4 separate regions of the Homo sapiens genome follow, and all the other regions are linked to region 3. Evidence: promoter capture Hi-C in 16 types of primary human blood cells and fetal thymus (Javierre and others, 2016). All regions are on one chromosome and are shown on one strand. The core of a region is centred on a gene start or on the middle of the fragment in contact, and the rest is flanking DNA. Distances in the headings are between cores, read along the strand shown.

Region 1 (4,955 bases), core at 1,643-4,142, 600 kb before region 3:
TGTTCCACGCTTTCCCTCACCTTCCTGTCTTCTTCTGAGACCTCCAAACACTTTCAGCCTCTGTCTGGTACCCAGCTCCAAAGCTGGGTATCTTTATAGCACTGCCCTACCCTTCAGTTTCAGTTTTCTGTTAGTCCATTTCCATTACTATAAAGGAATACCTGAGACTGGGTAATTTATAAAGAAAAGAGGTTTAATTGGCCCATGGTTTTGCAGGCTGTACATGAAGCATAGTACTGGCATCTGCTTCTGGTGATGGCTTGAGGAAGCTTACAATCATGGCAGAAGGCAAAGGGGAACCAGTGTGAGAGGAGGCAGGAGGCAAAGGGGAACCACATGGTGATAGGGGGAGGAGGTACCTCTTTCTTTCATTTTTTTTAATGTTTTATTTTTTAATTTATCTTTTCGTTTTTATTTTTCGAGACAATGTCCTGGTTTGTCACCTAGGCTGTATTGCAGTGGTGTGATCACTGGTTACTGCAACCTTGACTTCCTAGGCTCAAGTGATCTTCCCATCTCAGCCTTCCAAGTAGCTGGGACTACAGGCGTGTACCACCATACCCTGCTAATTTTTTATATTTTGTAGAGACAGGGTCTCTCTATGTTGCCCAGGCTGGTCTCGATCTCCTGGGCGCAAGCAGTCCTCCTGCCTCAGCCTCCCAAAGTGCTGGGATTATAGATGTGAGCCACCATGCCCAGCCACCAGGATCTTTTAAACAACCAAATCTCACATGAACTCACAGAGTGAGAACTCACTCATTACTGTGAGCACAGCTCCAAGTCATTCATGAGGCTTCCACTCCCATGACCCAAATACTTCCCACTAGGCCCCACCTCACTGAGGATTACATTTCAACATGAGATTTGGAGGGAATGAGCATCCAAAAAAATCACTCCGTATTTGAGTGAATCGTTTATTGGTGAAGGTCTGGTGTATGGAAGTGGCATCATTTGATGTATATTTTAGGAAGAAAATTTCTGTGGAGGGTAGGTAGATTAGAGGTGAGATATTTAATAGAAGACTGTTGTCAAAGAAATAGACTATGGTAGTTGGAATGGAAATGGAAAGGATGGTCAGATAGAAATAGAATCAGCAGTTTTCTGGGGCCTACCTAATAAATCCAGGGTGGTTATTTACATTGGGAAAGCATTTATAATTTTTTAGAATAATTTATAAAAATACTTTAAAAATAGCAGCTTTCATCCAGTTTTTAATTTCTGTTATATTAATAGAATGATGAGAGATGGGGTGAGAAAGGAGATATGACAAAGCTGAAATAGAATAATTGTCCAGTCAATTGGTGGGAAGTTCTCAGCCCACAGTAAAGAAGAGCTAACAGGCATAGGTATGTCTTCACCAAATGCGTTTGAATTCAGACGTCAGCTATGTTTTGAGGGAGAGACTTGAAGCAGAGACTAGAGGGTGGTTTGAGGGAAGGCGAGGAGTGACTAATGCTCAGACAGGAAAGGAGGTGGGTTTAAAAAGAGGGAGTTGTACAACTGTGCTTTGCCTAGGAAATTGGTAACAAGGACCACAAGGGCCATCTCTTACAGTTTCCTGAAATTTTGCACTTACAGTCCAGATAGATGGGGGCTGGAGGTGTCTTAACAAATGTTCATAAAAACTGGGGATAACCCCTGAGCTGATCTGGAAGGATGCATGGTTTGGCAGATAGGTAAAATGTGTTTGAGGTGGAGGGTGATGCATGCCCAGATGTGTGGAGGCACAAGTGAACTTAAAGTCATTTAGCATGGCCAGGAAATAGAGAAGACGATGCTGGTGGGGGTATTTTTCCAGAAAGACAAAAAGACTCAAAATTAGTTTAATGAGAGGAGTTCTAAAATTGTATTTCATTTTGTAAAGATTATGTGTCTGGCTGTAGATAGGTTGAAAGAGAACATGACAAGAAGACCAGTTAAGAAGGTTATCAAAGTAATGGCAAGAAATAATGAAGTTGGGATTTTGCCTCTGAAAATATTAATTCTATAAGGAAGCAAAATGTCAAATTATGTAATGTGAATGTGTGTTTATGTTTTCAGTGTTTTCATCTTTGTAAAATGGCACAGGAGTTCTGTTTCCAACAATGTGAGTTAATTAGGAGCTCCAAGTGACCCACCTGCATGAAATAACTAAAGTCTGGGAAAGATAAACTATGTGAGACATTGCTGGTCCCAGCTGGAGATGGAGAGATCTCCAGGAACTCTTCTCTTTCAAAACACAAACCAGCCCACCCTGAGTTAGGCCAGAGTGACAAGGCAGGCAGTTGGGATGAGAGGGTTGTCTGAGGTCAATTGCTGGTAGCAGCAGTGTTATCTGGATACTGAATCTTGGGTAGCCTCTGCTAAGACTAGACCCTCAAGGGCCTGAAGCCTAAGGTAGTAGTGGCCATGGCTGCTGACAAAAGTAGCAGAGCCTCTTTGCTGGAAAGCTTCCCCATTCTCAATTTAACCCTGTAAGACTCTTGCTCATTAAAATCTAGTAATGGCCTCATAGTCTGTGGTTACTAAATAAAATAGCACTAGGACTTATTGGTACATGCAACAAACAATATATTTATGCTCTGAGAGGACACAGATAATGGACTTTCACCTACAGGATATGTAACTGCTACCTATAAAGAAAGTAAGGATGTAGTCACAAGCTGTCCATAACAATAAGATTATTAGGAATAAATACATGTGATGGGGAAGAAAAGGAAACTTTTAGAAATGAAAGTTTATACTTGCCAAAATAAAAAAAAAGGTAGTCAGCAGATTAAACAGTTGAAGATAGAATTAGTGAACTAGAAAAAAATGCATAGAAATAATGGAATATTGCACTGAGAAAGAAGGAGATGGAAAATCAGGTGCAAGAAGGTGAGATCCATGTTGGGTAGGTGTGGGAGTGGTCCAGGCTTAAAGTCTTACACCTCACAGAAGCCAGTCTCTCTTATAACAATTCCATGAACTTCTGGGGTCCTGCAAGTGACATGCCAATTATAAGAGTCACTGAACTCAAGAAAGCCAAACCATGGTATCCCCATCAGGCATTTATAGTTCATTTATGGTTCTCCCCAGTCGAGATATAATTTACCAGGCAAGGATCATTTGTATCATAAGCAGTGTTGCCTAGCAATATAGTTGACATTCTATCCTTATCAGGCTTCCAGAGGAAAAGAGCTAGAGAGTTACCTGAAGCCCAGATTCTCATGCACAGCATAAATGTTTTGTTAAGTCTTTGCCCAAAGTATCTAATTAGGGTCTCTGGAAAAATAGAGACTATGAAGGAGAGCTGCTATTTTTTTTTTTTTTTTTTTGAGACGAGTCTTGCTCTGTTGCCCAGGCTGGAGTGCGGTGGTGCGACCTCGGCTCACTGCAAGCTTCGCCTCCCAGGTTCACGTCATTCTCCTGCCTCAGCCTCCCGAGTAGCTGGGACTACAGGCGCCTGCCACCACGCCCGGCCAATTTTTTTGTATCTTTAGTAGAGACGGGGTTTCACTGTGTTAGCCAGGATGGTCTTGATTTCCTGACCTCGTGATCCACCCGCCCCGGCCTCCCAAAGTGCTGGGATTACAGGCGTGAGCCACCACGCCCAGCCAAGGAGAGCTGGTATTTTAAGAGATAACTGGCTTCAGGTTTTACAAAAATAATGAGAAACCGATTCACAGATCCCAGAAGGAAAACACATCCCAAGCAGAATAAACAGAAATTCACACCTGCATGCATCATAATTAAACTGCAGAGTACTGAAAACAAAAGAGAAGCCATATGGAAGAGAACCAAGGCACACCTGTTAACAGCCTTGGTTGTGCTTCCAGCTAACAGCCAGCACTTACTGCAGCCATGTGAGTTAGTCCTTTTAAATGCTGCAGCATGGTCAAGCCTCTAGACCAGTGCTTCCCAAATTGACACCATGTGGAGCAGAAAGAACTGCCCAGTTGAGCCCAGTCACATCACAAAATAGTGAGAAATGATCAGTGGTTCTTGTTTCAAGCCACTAAGTATTGAGGTAGTTTGCTATGCAATGATACATAATGGAAACAGTGTTCAAGTAGAAAACTCAAAATCACCTATAGACTAGATATTAGAAATAACAAGACAGTTTAATAAAAAGGTTGACTATAAGATAAATATATGAAACTATTTCCTATATTCCATGTACAGTACAAGTACTGTGACATAGCTCAGACCATTAAGTTACATAGGATTTATCTGAGCACTTGACAAGCCAATTTTAAAATTTATATGGAAGAGCAAAGGGCCAGGAATAGCCAAGACCACCAAAGAAGTAGAAAAAATGTACATGACATCAAGGATTATGATCATATTATTCTTCTGGCTCAGGAATAGATAAATGGACTCAAGAAACAGAATAGAGACCCAAAACACAGACAATTATATATGAAACTTTATATGAAAGAAGTGCCATGGCAAATTAGTTGGGAAGGTAGGGGTGGGAAGGAGTACCTGTTCAGTAAAATGCTGCTGCTGGGACAACTGGCAATTCAAATGGGAAAATGTAAAGTTAGATCCTACCTTACGTTAGGCACAGAAATCTCTTCTAGGTGAATTAAAGATAAATGTGAAAAGCAAAACCTTAAAATTTTTAGAAGAAAATTTGGGTGTGTGTGTGTGTGTGAGATACACACACATCTCAGGGTGTGGAAGGACTTTTTAAAACATTTAAACTGCTAAGTAGAAAAAAAAATAAAAGCCTGGTGTATTAAAATTTAGAACATGTTTATAAAAAGGCTTCACAAAGAAAGTGAAAATTGAGCCCACAAACAGGTACACATTTGCAACACATTTAACTAACCACAGAATGGATAAACAAATCACAGTATTGTCACACAGTGGAATCCTAACACAATAGCGAAAATGACTGAACCTCAGCTATAAGCAATAACATGGATGAAACTTGGAAATGTAATTTTGAGTAGAAAAAAAATCTCAGAAGACTTCCATTAGTGTGATAT
Region 2 (5,142 bases), core at 625-3,124, 620 kb before region 3:
TGCCATTAAACACAATGGGGAGAGAAAGGAAGAGCACATTTGAGAAAGGAAGAAAGGAAGAACTTTTTAACAAGGTGAGTTTGAGACACCTCTGGGACAGTCATTTAGAGATGAGTATAATAAACAGTTGGGATTAAGAGCGTTATATTCAGAAAGACATACAGGGTAGGTAGTCAGGGCAGGGATAAACATTTGGGAGTCATCATCAGTAGATGGTTGAGAACTGAAGCCTAGGAAGTGGATGAAATTGCCCAGCAGCATCAAACTGTAGAAGAGATGAGAAGGAAGGTGGGGATGAAGTGACGGTAACATCTAAATGGAAGGACAGGGAAAGGAAGCTGCAGCAGGGGAAGAAACTGAGAAGGTACCATCAGGGAGCCTGGACGGGCCCACACAGACAGGGAGAGAGCATGATGCAAGTGAAGACATTCTGGCAAGCATGATCAATAACTATAAAACAAGTAACTGGAAACATTAACTTCAGCATATCTTTTTATGTTCTAATTTTTAAAAGAATAATAACTGAAGCTAAAGGTAAAATGTCAAATATTGTTAGGGTATAATACTTTATCTTTTTATATCTTTTTATAAAGCTGCTGTAGTGTGACAGGTCCTTCACCAGGTTATGTAAGGGTGTATGTCCACTGCTTGAACCCTGAAGGCTGGGGGGTAAGCCAAGGGCATGGTGCCCAGCCAAGAAGCAGGTATCCCTGAGAACCCAAATATCCCAGAGAATATCTGGGAACATACCAAGGAAAACAGTCCTATCACACATACACAGTAGGCAAAGAGCCAGAAAATTAGCTTAAAAGCAGCTTAGAGTCAGGAGGCAGGATGGGTCTCCACAGTTGTTCAGCTGCTTCCCAGGAGTGCCTTATATGGAAGTTCTAATAAATGCATCTACTTGCCAACCTGGACTTGTCTGAGTCATTCTTTGGTCTCTCGGCTCCCTCTCTATTTGGGGGGACATTGCAATCCCAGATTCTTCTCATAACAGCTCCTATAATATAAAGCCTCATTGACCTTTTGCTTTGTCTGACAGCAATATAATATAATGCTTAACAGCATGTGGTCTGTTCAGAGACCCACCTTCATGACCTGGATCTGCTACTCACTAACTAACCTCTGGTAAATTACCTAACTTCTCCAATTCTCCGTTTTATCATCTATTGAAAAACGATAATAACAGCACAGTACTGACCTTGTAGGATTCTTGTGAGGATTAAATGAGATGGCATGTATCAAGTGCTTAGCTTGGAAACTGATGCACAGTGAAGTATCCAATAAATGTATGTTGTTATTTTTATGTTCCATTTCAGATTTTGAAGACAGTATGTTCCAAATTTTTGCATACAACATAAATGGTTTCACATGTTTCAGATCACTATATGATGTAGAGATCCTTAAGGAAACTCTAATATTCAGAAACACCAAATCTTAAAAACAGCTATATTAGGATAGATTGTTTGCTATGTTAAAGGACTCTTTATGAGTAGAATAATTTACTGAATGTAGATCATTCTGTAGTAGATTTCATTTACTACTGAGATAAGATTCATTACTTAGCTGTTAGCACATTTAAAATTTTATTCCATTACAAAAATTTGATGTTCCACAACTTTTCAGGGCTTTCACATCCTATTATATCAAATAAAACACTATTATAAAATAAAACAAAAAAACAAAAAAAAACCCCAAATCCTAATGGTTCTCAAACCTTTTGGTCTTAGGACCCTTTTATACCTTAAGATTTGAGGACCCCAAAGAGTTTTTCTTTATATAAGTTATATCTATCAATATTTACTGTATTAGGAATTGGATATATCTGTTCATTACTTCATTTTAAAAATAACCCATTATACATTAACATATGAATAACACATTTTTGTGAAAATAACTGTTTGCCAAAACAAAAAAAATTATGAGAAAAGTGGCATTGTTTGATATTTTTGCAAACCTGTTTCATGTCTGGCTTAACAGAAGACAACTAGGTTCTCATATCTAGCTTCTGCATTCAATTGGTTGGGTTATCACATATCACATCGTAGCCTCTGAAGAACCCCACTGTACACTCTTGAGAGAATGAGAGTGAAAAGCAAATAATGTCATTATTATGAACACAGTTTTGACCCTCTGAACCCATGGAAAGGACCTTAGGGGCCCGCTGGGGCCCCAAGACCACACTGGATAACCAATGTCCTAGTTGAAAAGAAGTTTTTACAGGCCTGCTTTAAAATTCTCTTCTGAGAGCTGAGTGAAGAAATTTATCAAACACCCAACTCAGGCCTCTCCAGTCTCATGAGTGACACATTTATAAATAAGAAGCTAAGGGTGCCACTTACCCTCACAGCTTTCCCTGTGAATACTGAGCCAGTTGCACTGCTTTTGAAGGCTCTCATCTGGTTCAGTTCCAGAAGCCCTTTGTGATACTGTAAGGCAATTCGGGCTGTCACTCCTGAGCCAGTGGGACTTCTGTCAACCTGTTTCAGAATAAATGAAGACAGAATGTTCATAGTGTGTTCCATATTACCTGGCTTTTGTCCCTAAACATTACAGTTTTAATACCTGTTCATCTGCAAAAACACAAATGTTGGTGGTTGGTTCCTTGGTATAAGCATCTTTTCCATCTGTTAATATAGTTCCATATAAAAAGGCAAGGTCTTCACTATCAGGATGATTAATTTTAAACTGCAAGTAACAAAAAAAGATCACATGCAAAATAAATATTTTGATTCAAATTTATAAATAATGCAGATGGGTCATTCTTAGACATAACTTTTTAATCCTTATCATTTTTAAAATACCTTTTTGGGCAACGTATACTAATTGCTAGAAATTATGTCTTTGTCTAGATGAAGAAACATAGTTTTACTGCAATTTATAATTCTTATCATACTTTGAGTCCCTTCTAAGGAAGCTGTCCTGCATATAGCCTTTGCTAAAAAAGCAGTCCTATTTTATACACCCCTCCCACCCCAAATACACATAGTCTTTGCAGCACTGACCCCAGGATGGTCAATCCACAGGCTGGCGATGGCTGCTCAAACAGGATGAGCTAAGGCAATCATAGTCTTATTCTCAGGAGCTTAAGGAGGATAATGTGGGAAAATCAGGCTCTGAGTATCTAGAGCTGAAGTTAACACCAATGATAGAGACAAAGGCTGTGAGAGGATATAACATTCTGTAAGAATGCAGAAACTATTAGGCAAGAGAAACAATTGGAGGAAAAAAAGATTTATTGTAGACGATGAAGTCAGTTGATTCATCAAAAAGCAGCAGATATGCACACAAAGAAGCAGGCACTGGCAGGGTAGCTAAGTCACTCAATGGTAGATTCAGGCCCAAATATGCAAAGCTACTTGTTCTTGGAAGTCTAGTTCTTTAACTTTTCCTGGATTTCTGCAAACATTTACAGTATGACTGAGATTGCTATAATCTGACTTCCCTTGTATATGCTTACAATTAGTACTTTCTACTTCCAGTTACATGTCATTTAAAGCAATGGAACAGCTTTGGGTTCTTAACATCCAAAGAGTCCATCTGAAACCAAGTTAAAGCGGCCTGCAGATTGAATCTTTGTTCTCCATCCTCTTAAAGTGATACGCCCCACCTCCACTATAGCACATTCCAACATAACACTGTTCACAGGTATGCTCGCTTCCCCAACTGGAGCTAGCTCCTCAAAGGTGGGGTTTGTTCTTTCTTCGAGTCTCCAGGATCTAGCAGAATGTCTAACATATATACAGTATGTTTGTGGTAAATGTTTGTTAAAAGAGTGAATGAATTAAGATGAATTTATATTAACTTTAACTCTCCATCCCCATGGCCTTTTCCTAAATCTGCTTCAGCAGTGTGAATAGTCAACAGTTCACAGAGTAATTAATTGTACTGTCTGATACATCAATAACAGAACTTGTCCTCATTTTTCTCAGAATCCTTCCTCCCTCAAAGTCCACCCCTTGCCATCTTGTTGAGTTCAAACTCAAATGAGAAGTACAAAATTACACCTTTTATTAAGATATCCATGACTTTTTCTCTTGAATTCATGAAAAATTAGGAGAAATTATTTTGTGCCAAATTGTTAACTCAGACTATTAGCTGTCCTGCTTAATGGAACAGAAAACTGATGTAAATTCAGAGCTTCAAAAGTTGCTATCATAATATAATTGCACATATTGGTACTGGCAGTACCAGAAAAATAATTTAGAATACTGATACAGTGTATATTCTCATTTTAAGTTATAAATTATTTTAAAATAAAGCTTCAGAAAATGATAATTATTCGTACATTAGACACTATCTTACACAAGTTACTTTTTACTACTAATAAATTCTCACATACTAAATTCTCACGTACTAAACATTCAAATACTGTACATGTGTTTTATTTATAGGTCCCAATTTCAAGGTAAAATGTGCTTCACTCGTGCTAGAAGTGAAAGAATATCCTAGAATTATTATCTAAACTGATTTTATCAAATTAGCTTTCCCAAGTAAAAACTAGAGTTATTTAAGTAGTTATTTGAGTAACTTCTTAGCAATGTAGGAAAAAAATAATAGGAATTAATGTTCTCTATGAAATAAGAAAAAGGCTTAAATCTATTCTGTACACTATATTTTACATTTATTATTTTCAAGTTTAACAGAATGACCACACACATGCATTTAAAATTTGCAGAATTCTATAAATATATTTCTACACATTTAAGGAACTATAAACTATATTAGTATGTATGTATTATTAAATTTAGTAACTGCTAGGTGTGGTGGCTCACACCTGTAATCCCAACACTTTGGGAGGCCGAGCTGGGAGAATCACTTGAGGCCAGGAGTTTGAGGCCATCCTGGGCAACATAGTGACATCCTGTCTCTATATAAACACACACACACACTCACACAAACACAGATTTAGCTGGGTGTGATGGGGCATGCCTGTGGTCCCAGTTACTCTGGAGGCTGAGGCAGAAGCATCATTTTGAGCCTGGGAATTTGAAGTTACAGTAAGCTATGATCACACCACTGCACTACAGCCTGGGTGACAGAGCAAGACCCTGTCTCAAAAAAAATAATATTATCATTTACTGAACATTTACTATTGGCCAGACACTACTCTAAGTCCTTTACATGTATTGACTTATTTCA
Region 3 (5,260 bases), core at 2,327-4,826:
TGAAGTTAAAATTTTTACAAAATGTAACATAATTTAAAAAATTAAAGTCTAGCTTTTTAAATATTCCAATTTACTGATTTCCAGTCTACTAATAATTCTACTGTGTTCTTTCTTAAACACCTGTGTTTTTTTAAACAATTATCCAAAATAAGTTTCCAGTAGTTACAATGTTCCAAAATAATATCAACTGGAACACCTCTAAAATAAAGTCTCATCTGTGAAGTTATTGCTGTGGAATAATAGTGAAATTTAAGAGCTATACAAGAAAACTAAAAATTCTTTATCATAACCAAAATTTGAAACTATTCTTTTATCATACACTCCCCATCAGTAATTACTGTAAATTTTTCAGAACTGCAATTTAAAAGAAATATATTGTATCTTAGAGTAAAGCTTGAGACCAACCAATCGCAAAGCTATGATTACATTATATATTGTTTATTTGATGGTTCTATTTATGATTGTTTATGGGATATGAAAGTTTCTATATTAAAGAAAGTTTCAATATGAAACACTGTAATTAACTATTGGGCACGTCCTGTCTTTAATATTCTCATAACTCATAACTTGCCCAACCCAAATCTCACGAACATGCTCAGACACTCTAAAATTTCTACTCATCACATGTCCTTTCACATGATGTTTGATGCATATCATGATCTATGATACAGTGACTTTCAATAAGCCATATAAGTCAATCTTTTTATTTTATAGTCCTTTTCTTCTTCGGTTTTCTTCTTGTCCCATTAAGATATAAACCTTGACATTCTTTTCCAATCTTATTACTTCAACAATCTTTTAAAAAAAATTATTGAATATTCTACATCTTAACTTCTCTCCCAAGGTCAATATGTAATATAGGTCCAATTCTGTATTTCCAACTGGGCATAGGCACCTGAATATCGCATCAGCCCCTTACACACAGGTCTCAAAGTAGATTCATTATCTTTCTTCCCAAAGCTATTATTCCTCCTGTGTTTCTTTAAAGGCACCCGGAACTGTGAGCATGATTTTGCCTTCTCTTTGGCCCATACCTAGTGCTGCAGCTCTGCATTATTTTCAGAGACTTCTGGCCAGTGGTCTCTGGGAACAAGGCAGAGTGAGGGTTTATGGTGTGGGTTTTGCTTTTGTTTTACTTTTTAGCAAGAGAAGTTAACTTGGGTATGAACTGAAAACGGGCATTACCATTACACAATAACACGTATGTCATGATAATGCCTGGCTAAACATCTTCTCTGGCTGAAGCAGCAGTTCCAGATTTTTCACAATTTGTTTCATTTTATGTGAATCAGCAGGGTAGGAAAAAATACACGAATCTTGAAGACATACAGATACGGACTCAACTCCAGATGTCATCACTTATTTTACTTTTCTCAAGCTCAGATTCCTTACATTTGAAATAATAATAAGCTACCTCATAAGGTTAAGATTAAATGAGGTACACAAAGTACTGATTCTATGTATGCTCTAAGTATGTGTTGAATGAATTAAAGAATAAATGTTCCCCTACCTGGAATACCTCTTCTCCCAGCTAACTCTGTTTTTGTTTTTGTTTTGTTTTTTTTTTTTTGAGACAAGATCTCACTCTGTTGTCCAGGCTGGAGTGCAGTGGTGCAATTTCGGCTCACTGCAACAACCTCTTACCTCAGCCTCTGAGTAGCTGGGACCACAGGCGCACACAACCACACCTGGCTAATTTTTTGTATCTTTTGTAGAGACAGGGTTTCACCATGTTGCCTCAAACTCCTAGGCTCAAGCGATCCTCCTACCTCAGCCTCCCAAAGTGCTAGGATTGCAGGCAAGAGCCACCACGCCTGGCCCAGCTGTCCACTCACCCTTTAAAAATGGATTGCAACCATCCTTAATTTCCCCAGAATTATGTGTCCCACTTTGTTTCTGAAGCTCAGCGCATACCTGTTTATCACATACACTGTAATTACTGATGTCCTTGTTGTTCAAGTTATGTCCTTGATGTCCAAGTTATATTTTGGTAAATTCCTTAAGGATCATGTTTTATTTGACTTTATATCTGCAGCAATTAGTGTAGTTCCTGACAAATAGGAACCACTATTCCCTTCACTATTTCAATAAATGTTGAATGAATATTTTATACACAGCTAACCAAAGGGCTTGTACCATATGCCCTACTAATTTTATTCTAAGAAAGCACGATGTTCAAATATATTTGAAAAACAGCAGATATTTCAACAATAAACATGTTAATTCTGCTTGGGTCATATGTAATGCCCATGAGAAGAACAAGCATAAATACAGACTCTCTACATAAAGATAATAGCTCATCCTTACTAAGCACTTAAGCTGTGCCATTTACTCTGCTAAGCAATTTACAATTATTTGATTTAATCCAATGACATAACTCTCTGCGGGTTAAGTTCTATTATTTGCCTTATTTTACAAGATATGGGGAAACTGAGCACTAGAGAAATTACATAACCTCAAGATCTCACAAGTAGTAAGCAGTAGTGCCAGGGTTTCAACCCAGACTTCCTGACTCTGGAGCCTCCACTCTTAATTACATGAAACTCAGACTTCTTGGCGGTAAGTGATGCTTCCGAGATGCTTAATGTGGTACTCTGACCCGCAATGAGTGAGCTTCAATGAGAAAAACTATGGATGGACCAACAGCACGTTTTCCCATATTCTATCAAATCGTGAAGATACCAAACTATGAAAGGGTCTACCTGCAAATTAAGTCCTTGAAGACAAGTATATGTATATCCGGGGTTTTCTTCCACATGCTTTCAACACACTACACTTTTGCTCTGGACACAATATCTTAAAAATAAATAAATAAAGCTTTGGCTTTTAATATGAACACAGTAATTATTTTTCTATTACGACCTGAAAACCTAAATACTTAAATACAAAGTCAGCATTTCCAAGACAGCCAAGAGCCAAGAATTAAAAAAAAAAAAAAATTAAGGCCGCATTTATAGTTTTGAGGAATGGAGATCCAAACAAAACAGTCCACAAGTCATCTTGGACGCTGAAGTGTGCAGAACTGCTAGGGCATCTACCCAATCACATGGGGGAATTGCGGGTACCTTGATACCGACAAGTTAGCTTCAAAGTTCCCTTACCCGAGCCTCTAAATCAGCTGAGACCAATCATTGTTAACGCTCTCCGGGGCCGTCTTGAGGACTCCCAGTTGGCAATCTGGAACGTGTCCAGAACTTGGTGGGGCGGGGGGGGGATCATATTTCGTGGAGAATGGGGGAGGTGAGCCCTGGGTATAGGGATAACTTTTTAACTAGCGTTAATTGGGGTCTTTGCGGCCAGGCTGTAAAGATTCCCGCCACACTAATATGAATCAGCCATGGCCTTTTAATTGGAACGCCGGAACTCTGCCTTGTTTTATTAATATCTTAATAACACGTTTCTATAATGGACATGTTGGTTCCTTGTATTTTAAAACGCAGCCACAAACTGAGGCGATAGCGATCACGTTATGCAGTCCCCAATCGTCCAAGCCGAATAGGCTGCATGAAGTATCACTCAAAAACATTCATTACCGTCGGTGTGTTGAGTGGTAACGCCAGTGTGCGAATTCATTAATGGAAATCACGGGACCCCGAGCGGTTGGAGATCTGCCACACCCCTCTGCCTGCGTTAAGACAGCCTGACCCGACCTCTGGTAAATTAATGCGCAAAATGGCGGTTGCACGTCTGTTTCCCCACCCCGGCGCACAATCCTGAGGAAGGACGTCACGTCACCAGGGCAACGACGCTCTTGCGTAAAGGCCCGGCCCAAGGGAACGTTCAGGGCGTCTCGGCTTTCCCCGCTGCTGCTTCTGCTAGGCCCAGTGCGAGACCAGAGCACGAGCGACTCCCGTCGTCCCCGGCCAGGCAGATGTTGGCCTAGTCCTGGCGCGAACGAAGCGCGCTATTTCCCTGCTTCCTCTAGGCCAAGCCTGCTTTACGGCAGGGCCCGCCTCGGGAGCGAGCACAGACCGGGGCAGCGAGGCCAGCCAGGCGCCGACGAGGTCCCCGAACGCGCACGCGCTCCGTTCAGCTCCGGGTGGCGGCCGCCGGAGTAGACGTTAGCCATGGAAACCGAGAGCTGGCCCGGGCGGGGCCGCGGTGAGCTCGTTATTCGGCCGCCGCAGCTTTTCTGCCTCCGCATTCGGGCACTAACCAACCTCCCGGCGGGAGCGCCCAGCCCGAGTTTACCTGCAAAAATGCGGTCCCTGGGATGCCTTCGCGTCTTCTCTTCCCTCGGGTGACTTGAGGTACGTTCGTTGTCCGACGTCCACCTCGGGACTTCTTCGGCATCTTAATGTCCAAGCCTGTGCGGAGAGCCAAGTTGTTCTAGGGGCTTTCATTGCCACAAGAAACATATTTTTCGTTTTTCGTTGCAAAACCTTTAAGTGCAATTATTGCGCTTAATGAACTCAGTCATTAGAGATAGTAATTCAGTGTGATTTTAACTTTCCTTTGAAAGACTACTTTAGCCTGTTGAATTGTAGCATTTTGTTTCTAAGAGACTCGTACGAAATGGAATATGGCACACCCACCCGGAGCTGTGTCCGTTAGGTAGAACTGTACTCTCGCAATATCTCCAACTAAACCTCTTTTGTCCGAATTGTTCAACTCATGGCCCCCTGAACGTGAAGCGCTCCTTCCCCACTGATCTCGACCTCTGTCCCCACAACCTCTTGTCTCTCCAGGACCAGAATTTACTCCAGTGAATCGGAAGTTGTTTTCCATGCCGCTGAATTGGTTATCTGCTCTGTATCCATCATTTTTCACTTACTCATTTTTTACTATTTTTAGGTGTTTGTTTTCTTCATTAAATCATTCCTGCAGTTAGGGCAAAGACTGCCCTTCATGTTATTTGGTATCCACCGCCACTCACGCCAAATCCCCAGACCTTTAGCATAGCATCCAGTTCAGATGTTGCCTTTTCACGAATTTAACTGTTTGTAGCATCTGTTGGCTGCTCCTAAATTTCCTACTTAAAGAGCTGCCTTCTAATTATTAACTGCTGTGGAAAATACCAATCAGGGAAGCTTTTTCTTTTTTAAGAGCTTTATTGAGATGTAATTTACATTCAATACAATTCACCCATTTATAGAATTGTGCAACCCTTACCACAGTCAAGTTTGGAACATTTTCATCACCCCAAAAAGAAACCTTTTACCCTCAGCAGTCACCACCTCCCTCCCCCCATTATCCTTACCCCACCAGCCATAAGCAATTACTAATCTGTTTTCTGTCCCCATAAATTTGCTTATTTTGG
Region 4 (4,809 bases), core at 737-3,236, 890 kb after region 3:
CATCAAATTTTTTTTTCCATTTTGATAATATACGGAGAAGTAGAGAGATAGATTCCAGAAGCTGCTATTATACAATTTCTAGTTAGTTATTTCTGGGGTTTTAGCATTTTTCTTGTTATTCTTGTTGCTAGTGTGTACCTTGGAGGGCTACTACATAGCTTCTTAAATACACAGAAGTGTGACTAGTTTTTAAAAATGGGAACTTGATCCACATTTCATTTATAATGAAATATGACACTTAAGAGTGGCATATTCATTGTATCTCCTTGGCCAAAGTGAATCAAAGCCATGCAGATTAACTTCCAAATAGCAATTTTGTGAGTGCAAATACAACACATAATCTTTTCATTCCTCGCTGTCTCTTTGTATTGTTAAGTAGTCTTATTTCACTTTCAGAGGCCAGACATGTGTTTTGTGCCTGTTCTTTTTTATGTTTCAGGACTTAGCTTGTAGGCCAGTTTGCCCAAAATAGAAGACAATCCTGGATATTCTGTGCTTTCATAGTACTTTGTATATTCATTCTGTTATTATAATTGTTACAATGATATGTTTGGAAATTAATGTTCCCACTAAACTGAAATCCTTTACAACTGGAGGTCAAGGCAGGCGGATCACTGGAACCCACGAGTTTGAGACCAACCTGGGCAAGATGGTGAAACCCCATCTCTGCCCAAAATACAAAAATTAGCCTGGTATGGTGGAGTGCGCCTGTAGTCCTAGCTACTTGGGAGGACTGCTTGAGCCTGAGAGGTTGAGGCTGCAGTGAGCCATGATTGGGCTACTGCACTCTAGCCTGGGTGACAGAGTGAGATCCTGTCTAAAAAATTTAAAAAATAGAAAAATCCTTTATAACTGGACCTTATTCTTAGCATCTAGCACCACATGGCTAATAGAATGAATTAACAAATTGGCTTTGTCAGTAGAAGCAGATCTATTTACTAGGAAATTTAAAATGCCTAGGGAGTCTCTTTTATGTTTATTTCCTGCTTTTATTCCAAATTTTTTGATAAGCAAAGCAACTTTTAAGTAACCCAACTTGCTTTTATTATGGAATGTACTCACAAACTTTCATTATTTTTAAAATTAAAAACTATATGTGACACCTTAAGCAAGACATAGTCAGAGGACTTTTTTTTTGATTCTCTTTGAAAAATCATAATTTATGCACCAGGGTCTTACATGCAGATATATACTGCTGAATGTGTGCTCACCCAGTCATAGCAACCATCATTTTTGGTGATGCTAAAGTGTTATTTTGTGAAGTTCCTGATGTCAGTTTAATGACATTTGTACTTTTACCTCTCAATTTTATTTATTAACAAGTATTAACTGGACCACAGAGAGAAAATTTCTTCAATGACTGGGGCAGTTCACTGGGGATAGCTGTATAGAAGCTTGTCCTGCTGGTGTCTTCCTAAAAATGAATAGGAAATTATCTAAGTTTTTTCTTTCACACTGTTGGTGAGAGGACCTCAATCATTACATTGTTTGCACATTTTTCAAATTGCATCATTAGAGGTGTGTTAACTACATTATTTTAATTTAGTTTGGTTTGGAGAGTGTGTGCGTTTAATAGATGCTAGAAAATACAGCCTAAATAAATCTTAAGTACACCTTAATAAGATGAAGGTATGATAAGGAGGTCAATATCACTGGAAGTAGAGGGAGGAAGGGAAAAAGAGAAGACAATGAGATTGCATAAGTAAAACTTCTGTTTAGACTTAAAATAAGAAGAAAACCAGTCATAAAAAGGAAATATTACAAGATTATTTAATGGCTGATTCAGCAGTCAGCAGACAAGACTGCAAAATGAGGAAGTTTGCTTGTATTTTTAAAAAAGTTTGGTTTTTATTTTTTTTTATTTTAAAATCAGTATATTTTCATTTAAATAAAATTGGTAAATACAAAAAAGTAGAAAAGTATCTTCTTAATTTCCTTAATGAACATAATTCTGCTACTCAGAGATAGTTCCTGTGAATATTTGACTGTTAAGCAATTTGTTTTTGTAATGAGACACCATACAAAAGACAAACTTTTGGGAGGTTTTGACCAGGTGTTCTTTTATGTTTTAGCTTCTTGCTGCTGACAGTTGCTCTCCTGGCTTCTTACTCAGTCCATCTTCTGCTTAGTATGTGTATTCAGACAGGTGAGTAAAAATGTTATGCTGCTTCATTTAATAAAGGAGTCTCTTGAGTTTGTATCTACATATAGAACTGGATGTCTCAAATCTAATATCCAGTGAGCATACATTTTTATTAGATAGGGTGATCGGAATGGAGAATTTGAAAAACCAGGATATACAGACCCAATACTGTGGGGGAATATCCAAGCACAGGATGGGAGGAGGTAATTAGCATTTTTACCTGCTTTCCTCCACAACACAACCTAATTTTCTGGAGTAGAGTAGATCATGGGAGGGTCTAAAAGGTGTTCAAAGGATCCAAACCTTATGCTTATGGAGAAATCATTTTCTCAAGGAGAGAACACCTTCTCAGAGCTACTGTTGCCTTCCCTGCCCCCATCTGCCTGCTAGTCAGAGGTAGGGATGGCAGAATTAGGATTGTAGGAAGTAAGGTCACAAAGCTTTAATTTATTTAGACACATTTTGTATTTTTAATTGCAAGTCTAGAATAGGGTAGTTTTTTCCTAAGAGAAATAAGTATGTGCAGTTAATTCAATATATTTGTGTATATACTTTTTCCCATTTGGAATTTTATTATGCAATTCAGTCATGTATTGAATAAGTTCTTTTAGGATCCAGTAAATAAAAGTATATGAATTATAGAAGTGCTTTTCTAAGATTTTCCTTTTGTCATTAACAAATATTCTATGTTCATCAGTCCTGGTCTTTTTATCTGTCTAGTCTCTTTTGTCTTTGGATTAGGTCAGCTTTGATGCCAAAATCATGGGTTTAATTCTTATATGGATGAGTTCGTTTTGCTTTATCTGGCCTTGTGATGTTCAGATTTTAAGAAGAAAAGTAGATACACAAAATAGATAAAAATGGATTTCTTAATTCATTTAGTGTTTCTATAAAAGAATACCTGAGGCTGCATAATTTATAAATAAAAGAGGTTTATTTTGCTCATAGTTCTACAGGCTCTGCAAGAAGCATGGCCCTTCTTATGAGGGGCTTTTCTGCTCCATCTGCATCTAGTAAGGGGCTCAGGCTGCTTTCATTCATTGTGGAAGGTGAAGGGGAGCTAGGATATGCAGAGATCACATGGCAAGAGAGGAAGCGAGAGAGGAGGGGCATGCCAGGTTCTTTTTAACAACCAGCTCTCATGAAACTAATAAAAGTGAAAACTCACTCATTACCCCAAGGAAGGCACCAAGCCATTCATGAGGGATCTGGCCCCAGGGCCCAAACACCTCCCCTTTGGCCCTACCTCCAACACTGGGGATCTGATTTCAACATGAGATTTGGAGGGGTCTGACAAACCAAACTATATCAGTGAGACTATTCTGTGCTGAAACAGGTGAGTGAAGCCCAGTGATGTTTCTTAAGAATTTTAAGACTCTTCAGAATAATTCTGAAGCCACTGCTCTAGTTTGTTTTCCTAAAACCTGTCCATCATCAGAAATACTCATAGATCTTTTTATACACAGAGAGCTCTAAGCCTCAGGGATTCTAATTTCAAAAATCTGAGGTGAGACTCAAGAATATGTTTTTAACAAGGCAAAACCAGTTTAGGATCCATAGTTTATAGCTCTAACTTGTACCAGTGCTTTGGCCAGCCAGTGCCAGATATGTTTTTAACAAGTCCTCCAAGTGATTCTTATGCAAATCTAGTTTAGGATTCATAGTTTATAGCCACAACTTCTAACAGTGCTTTGGCCATCCAGTGCACGCCTTTGCTCTCAAGGGGCTTGGGTGAATGTGCAGACAGATGAAAATACTAGGAAGCAGTACAAATATTAATCCTAAAGTAACAGGTTGTTCATAAAAGCATCCTGAATTTAGGAATAATAGCTTTAGATAAATATATTTGTAAATCCTGCTGAAACTTGAATTTTAATTGCATGTATTGAAATTTTGCTGAATGTGAAAAAAATTTTACTTAATTGTGATACTTTAACATCTTGGTAGATTCTTTCAATTCATTCTGTTAAAAGATTAATACTTTAGTCAACTATGTGGCAATTATGTCTTTCAAGCTTCATTTTAAAACTTCATTTTAGTTTTAATTTAAGTAAAATGTTTTATTTCGGTTATGTGGGAGTAGTATTCAGTGTGTGGAGATTTCTAAGTAATTTTAATTTTTTACTCCTTCGGTTCACATGTATTTAACTTTAAGATTCTGACACTGTGTTTGTTCTTTTCTGTAACTCTGGGGCGTATGAAGTGAATATATCTGTTTCTCTTCTTTTTTCTTTTTCTTTGATTTCTGTAGCCTACTTGGGCCCATGAACTAACTACTTCATGGTTCTGCCTGCACATTGACTCACCTGTCTTCCGTTGATTGAATTCCTTCAATCTTTGTAAAATTCTCTGTGGAGGTAGGCTTTTCCTTTTTTTTTTTTTTTTCAATACATACATTCATATATAAAGACTAGAGTATAATACGTAACTAACTCTCTCCCAACAGTTTGTTGGACTGTCATAAAGGATTATTATGCTCAGATTGAATTCATTGGTAAGAGAAAGAGCTATCATGAGTTTTTATGAAATAACTTCTTCATTTATTTGCTGGTGGTAAAGGGTAAAGAGAAATTTTCATCTTTATAAAAGTAAAGGATTTCTTCACATGAAATTCTACTTTAGATTTTATGGAGCGTTTGGGGTCTATCAGGACTTTTCATGGGAGC

What was found. The method cuts DNA at HindIII sites, captures the fragments that hold promoters and counts their contacts. A CHiCAGO score of 5 or more calls a contact.
Region 1: a contact is called between a fragment that was not itself captured here and the fragment with the promoter of PCNX4-DT in region 3, in 1 of 17 cell types (erythroblasts). The highest score is 5.2, in erythroblasts.
Region 2: a fragment that was not itself captured here is called in contact with the fragment with the promoter of PCNX4-DT in region 3 in 2 of 17 cell types (neutrophils and total CD8 T cells); the score reaches 6.6 in neutrophils.
Region 4: a contact is called between a fragment that was not itself captured here and the fragment with the promoter of PCNX4-DT in region 3, in 1 of 17 cell types (fetal thymus). The highest score is 5.0, in fetal thymus.

What each region holds. Positions count from the first base shown.
Region 1 is chr14:59,489,521-59,494,475 of GRCh38, forward strand. The region is part of intron 3 of JKAMP (JNK1/MAPK8 associated membrane protein); the gene reads left to right. It overlaps LOC124903326 (a long non-coding RNA gene), which reads left to right. Exons shown (of 2, transcript XR_007064196.1): 1 at 1-1,346; 2 at 2,041-2,531. It also overlaps a transcript of L3HYPDH not described here. Among named protein-coding and RNA genes, the nearest start is that of JKAMP, 7.5 kb to the left of the region's middle. The HindIII fragment of the contact is 930 bases long and covers 2,428-3,357 here.
Region 2 is chr14:59,473,527-59,478,668 of GRCh38, forward strand. L3HYPDH (trans-L-3-hydroxyproline dehydratase) reads right to left here. Exons shown (of 5, transcript NM_144581.2): 3 at 2,566-2,688; 4 at 2,343-2,480. Among named protein-coding and RNA genes, the nearest start is that of L3HYPDH, 8.3 kb to the right of the region's middle. The HindIII fragment of the contact is 4,772 bases long and covers 1-4,260 here.
Region 3 is chr14:60,088,170-60,093,429 of GRCh38, forward strand. It overlaps PCNX4-DT (PCNX4 divergent transcript), which reads right to left and starts at 3,577. Exons shown (of 5, transcript XR_943918.4): 1 at 3,534-3,577. PCNX4 (pecanex 4) reads left to right here and starts at 3,754. Exons shown (of 11, transcript NM_001330177.2): 1 at 3,754-4,250. RefSeq lists enhancers at 3,575-3,704, 3,795-3,984, 3,948-4,581. The HindIII fragment of the contact is 2,213 bases long and covers 2,816-5,028 here.
Region 4 is chr14:60,982,658-60,987,466 of GRCh38, forward strand. SLC38A6 (solute carrier family 38 member 6) reads left to right here. Exons shown (of 16, transcript NM_153811.3): 3 at 2,073-2,146. Among named protein-coding and RNA genes, the nearest start is that of SLC38A6, 3.8 kb to the left of the region's middle. The HindIII fragment of the contact is 1,189 bases long and covers 1,393-2,581 here.